Linked DNA regions of Homo sapiens: region 2 is linked to region 1. Evidence: promoter capture Hi-C in human tissues and cell types (Jung and others, 2019). All regions are on one chromosome and are shown on one strand. Each heading gives the region's core, a stretch centred on a gene start or on the middle of the fragment in contact. The rest is flanking DNA. Distances are from core to core; before and after follow the strand shown.

The links. The method cuts DNA at HindIII sites, captures the fragments that hold promoters and counts their contacts. A contact is called where the count stands out against the background at its distance.
Region 2: a contact is called between a fragment that was not itself captured here and the fragment with the promoter of PDRG1 in region 1, in 1 of the 25 tissues and cell types used here (small bowel).

What each region holds. Positions count from the first base shown.
Region 1 is chr20:31,950,639-31,953,338 of GRCh38, forward strand. It overlaps PDRG1 (p53 and DNA damage regulated 1), which reads right to left and starts at 1,408. Exons shown (of 5, transcript NM_030815.3): 1 at 1,237-1,408. The coding sequence starts at 1,323. The HindIII fragment of the contact is 6,454 bases long and covers 1-2,700 here.
Region 2 is chr20:31,757,627-31,760,326 of GRCh38, forward strand. It overlaps TPX2 (TPX2 microtubule nucleation factor), which reads left to right. Exons shown (of 18, transcript NM_012112.5): 4 at 2,431-2,553. Among named protein-coding and RNA genes, the nearest start is that of TPX2, 20 kb to the left of the region's middle. The HindIII fragment of the contact is 7,137 bases long and covers 1-2,700 here.

The DNA.
Region 1 (2,700 bases), core at 158-2,657:
ATTATCCACTCGAACTTTAGGGCATATCAGAATCACCAGGGGAGTGGAAACCCTTCCCCTACACACTGTGATTAAGCAGGCCTAATGTTTATTTTTGGACAAACTTCTCCAGCTGATTCTGAACTAGTAATATGAGAAACCCAACAATACTAGATTGGAACAGCAGGATTGGGGGCACTGAGACAGTGGTAACAACACAATAGCTACTAAGGAAGTGACGCAGTAGTACAGTATACTGCACGAGTGCTGGTTCTGGATTTGGAATACCCAGGTTCGAATCCTGCTATCTGCCTCAAGCTGTGTAATTTCACCTTCCTATTTACTCCTCCTCAAAATGGAGCTACGGACAGTACCTACCTTACAGGTTATTGAGCCAGCAATTAAATGACTTAACACAGTACCTGGCACATAGTAAGTAGCTGATAAACTTTAACTGCTCTTATTCTCATCCAGCACACCCTGATCCAGTACTTAATTTGACAGGATCTTGCCCAAGTTTTCCCCTTCTCAGTAAATACCTGACCCTTCTAACTGGAGATGAGAGGGAGTCACGACTCCCCCGGCTCCACTACCACGGCCTACTGAGTCTGTCTCCAAAATACATTTCTGACCCCTTCACTTCTCTCCACCACCACTACCTAGTCCAAATCCATCTCTGGTCTGGACCATACCAATGGCCCCTCACCCATCTCCCTGCCTCCGCCCTTGCCCACCTATATTCTGTATTCCACACAGCAGCCAGGGGGGATCCTTTTAAAACCTAAATCCAATTACGTCACCCTCCTTCCCCCAGGAACTCCCCTCAAAAACTTGGCACTTAAAACAAGACACCCCATAAACAGGGCGCCACCTTCCCCCACGTCCCCACCCCTGCCCGGTCACAAGGCCCCCTCAGGCTTCTTTTCGGTTCCAGCTCTCCCCTGAGGGCCTTTACAGGGCGGTGCCCCTAGATCAACCATGGGGCCGGGAAGTGCATTTTGAAACAGGTGCTCAGGGAAACGGCCCAGAGCATGATGGGTCGAGATCCACAGAGCATGGCAAGGGGCAGAGAAAGGATGAAGAGAGAGGAATGTCCAGCATAGCGCAGGCGCTCACTTAGTAGCGGCCGAATATTTATCGGCCCAGGTCTGTCGCCTCGGAGCCGTTAACCGCCTGTCCAGGTCAACTCACTGCGACCCCGCGCGCTTTCCCACGGCGCCGGCCGCCAGGCCCCAGCGCCGCGGAGGGGCCTCTCACCTGCCGCTTGTCCGCCAGCACCTCCTCGGCGAGCTCCTCCACTTCTACAAGGTACCGCAGCACTCGCTCTGCCTCGGGTGATAGCATAGCGCCCACCAACTCCGCTTGCGGCTCTCGCGCGACCCCGGGATCTCCGCTTCGACTCCCGCTGCGCACGCGCCGCTCTCTAGGTGCTTCCGGCGCGCCTGCGCAGTTAAAAGAACGGTGGTGCGCAGGCTCTAACACTAGTGCGCCAGCCGGCTGCGAGAGGCGGGGCCTAGCTTTGGGGGCGGGGCTGGAGCGCCCTCTGCAGGCTCAGAGAGCTCAGTCCTCGGGCTGCCTCTGACCCGTTACTCCCTCGGTTCATGCTTCTTGAGCACTTATTATGTGCCAAGCAGTTTTATGTGCTTAGGATGCAGCAGTGAACACAACAAAATCCCTGCCCTCATGGAACTTCATCCTAGTGGGAAACACCGACAATTAATGGCAAAACAATTATATACCGTGGCAGGTAGTGATTAGGATCTGGGAAATATTATTCTTCCCCTGGCTAAGAAACACCAAGAAGGCCCATGTGGCAGTGTGACTTATGTTTAATCTCTGACACTTTCAGTTTCTAATTTATAAAAAGGGGGTGAATAAAAATCCGCCTCAGTGTCTCTCCACAGGATCGGAAGGAAGCAGGAATCAGCTGGGCGCAGTGGCTCATGCCTGTAATCCCAGTACTTTGGAAGGCCAAAGCGGGGGGATCACTTGAGCCCAGGAGTTCGAGACCAGCTTGGGCAACACAGTAAAACCTCCGTTTCTACTAAAAATACAAAAAAAAAAAATTAGCTGGGTGAGGGGGGGCGCGCCCGTTGGTCCCAGCTACTCAGGAGGCTGAGGCGGGAGGAGCACCTGCATCTGGGGAGTCGAGGCTGCCCTGAGCTATGATGGCACCACTGCACTCCAGCCCGGGTGACAAAACGAGACTCTGTCTCAAAAAACAAAGGAAGCAGTAATCACTTTTAATTCCGTTTAACCAGAGTTCACTTGAGCCCCTGTGTTGGGCCCAATGTCCAGAGTAGCTGGCCTATACATAAGGAAGGGACTTGAAAACTATGGGCAGTAAGCAATGAAGTGCTAGCTCAGAAAAGCAGGTGGGTGTGGGTGGTAGGATTGGGAGGACTTCCCAGAGAAGGCAGGCAGGTGGAAAATGGTTACCATCAGAACCAGAGGGTTCCCACGAGGTCTTCACGCCCAAACTCCTCATTGGATAGCTGGAAAAAACAAACCTCAGAGAGAGGCAAGGCTTTGAAAAGAAGGTGAGGGGTGAGCCATGTGGATGCCTAGGAGAAGAGTGTTCCAGGCAGAGGGAACAGCCAGCGTATGTGGAACAGAATGGGCGGGGGGGAAGCAGGCAGGAGGTCAGAGGGAAGGAGGCATTGAGCCCACATGGCTGTAAAAGGCGCTGGGAAAGGACTTTGAAAGTCTAAAGAGCAGAAC
Region 2 (2,700 bases), core at 125-2,624, 190 kb before region 1:
CTTTGTGCTGAAGACCTTTCAATAATAGAAGGGGTTGCAAGAAAAGAACTAAAATATCAACTTCTTTCTGCACCAAGACATTCTGTCATCCATGATATTATGGGAATAATTGAAATGCCCAGTATTTGGGGAATGGATTGTAAGTACAAAGCATATGTTGTTTTGTAGTTCAGAATGGCAGATTTAAGCTTTAGGGACCTATGGGAAAGTTCAGATGAACCAGTGTTCAACAAAACTCCATGCTCAAATATGTCTGTAGTGATGGCAGCCACATAAAAACTTTGTCTACTATCATTAGGGATAGATTATATCACAGCTAGGATATTGACATTCATACAATCTACCAGTTTTACTCAGATTTCTCCAGTTTTACTTGTATGTGTATTAAGTTCTCTGTGGTTTTATCACCTGTGTTGGTTTATGTGTCTACCATCACAGTCAAGATCTTTTATAATTACCCTCACCTCCCTCCTGCCACCCCTCCCTCAATTCATTTTTTTTTTTTTTTTTTTTGAGGCTGTAGTCTCGCTCTGTTGCCCAGGCTGGAGTGCAGTGGTACAATCTCAGCTCACTGTAACCTCCGCCACTCTTGTTCAAGCGGTTCTGCCTCAGCCGCCCAAGTAGCTGGGATTACAGGCGCCCACCAGCATGCCTAACTAATTTTTGTATTTTTAGTAGAGACAGTGTTTTGCCATGTTGGCCAGGCTAGTCTTGAACCCCTGACCTCAGGTGATCCACCCACCTCAGCCTCCCAAAGTGCTGGGATTACAGGCGTGAGCCACTGCGCCTGGCCCTCAATTCATTTTTAAATGGAAGGATTATGCTACTAAGAACCCATTCCCAGAAACAGTATTGCTTGGCCAATGGTAAGTAAGAATGTGGTTACATTTTTACATTACTTTGAAATAATATCTGAGACTAGTTGTTGAGGCCCCTTTGATTCTTTCTCTCATGTCTCCATCCTCCTTATCGGGAGAAATCACTATGAATATGTGGTGGGGAACAGAAGTGAGTCCATTGCAGCTGTACTTATCCGTATAGTGCACTGTCCAAATGTGTTGACAGGTGCCATTTTTTGGAAAAGGACTTTAATGGCATCTAGTGGGGATCCTGAGAGGAGTCGTCTGTTGGAAGTGGTGTGGGAGGAAGGGTAAATAAATACAAGGGCCAGCTGTCCTGCGGGGATCTTCCCCATGCCCTTGCTTCACTGGAACTGTAAGGAAATGGCTGGGCTGTCTGAGGATTTCTTTTTCTAAGCTTTTCTTTAAAATAAAAAAGAAAAGAAAAGATTAGCCTAAGAATACTGTTAAATACAATTTGGAAGAAAAAAAATGACCCCACTATTTTTCCAAAACTACCTTAGTTTTAAAACATTTTTATTTTTTTTTCTTTTTGTTTTTGCCAGAGTTCTTTTGGCTAACAAAACTACCTCAGTTTTAATATATTACTTTCCAATTTCTTTCCCAAATAAATAGTCACATCTTTCTACACAGTTGCAATCAGAATGTACATGCACAGGGTAGTTATTGCTGTGTCTCACTGCATTCCTGAAACTATCAGTAGGCTGTTGGTAGAACAGACCCTTCACTGCTTTGTACTGACTTCTGGGCACAGTAGAATCTAAGATAAAATTTCTTGAGAGAACCTAGCTCTGCTCTACCCTCACACACCCCTTATTCCTCCCACCACCCCACTGAGGAGGAAACTCTGTAAGACTATACAGTATCTCTTGTAAGCCCTACAGTTTTTGATGGTTACAGTTTTCTTTCGTTTTTTTTTTTTTTTTTTTTTTGAGATGGAGTCTTGCTCTGTCGCCAGGCTGTAGTGCAGTGGTGCGGTCTCAGCTTACTGCAAATTCCACCTTCCAGGTTCAAGCGATTCCCCTGCCTCAGCTTCTCAAGTAGCTGGGATTAAAGGCATGTGCCACCACGCCTGGCTAATTTTTTGTATTTTAGTAGAGACGGGGTTTCACCATGTTGGCCAAGACAGTCTCGATCTCCTGACCTCATGACCCACCCGCCTCGGCCTCCCAAAGTGCTGGGATTACAGGTGTGAGCCATCGCTCCCGGCTGGTTACAGTTTTCTTTAAGAGGAACATGATATATTTAGGGAGTAGATAAAGCCAGTTCATATTTGTATGACCCTAAATGTGTACCAAACAAAGATAAGGAGTTATTCACAATGCAGAATCTGTACTTTTCCTTTTTTATAATACATTGTTCAATGTTGCCAGTTTTTAGTGATTGTTCTTATAGTCTATCTCGGATGTGTAATGTGTACTTTTTCTTTTGATTGCTAGAACTTTGCTTGTACTTGCCACATGAGTTGGAAGTGTACTGGTAGGGAGCTTTAGTTTGCATTTTAAATGCGTGATAGTGATTTGTTTTGCTTCCTTGCTGATCAGACAATGATGATCTTCCCTTTTCACAGAGGAGAAGGCCAATTTGGAGAATAAGTTACTGGGGAAGAATGGAACTGGAGGGCTTTTTCAGGGCAAAACTCCTTTGAGAAAGGCTAATCTTCAGCAAGCTATTGTCACACCTTTGAAACCAGGTAAGAAAACATCTTAGAAAAAAGCTCCTTGATAGAATGGTGGGACAGTGTTTTAGAAGCCTGAGGTTCTGGGAAAATTACCTAAATGCTCTATCTCTTTGTTTATTATTGGTGAAATGGGCTAATTCATTTCATGATAAATGTAAA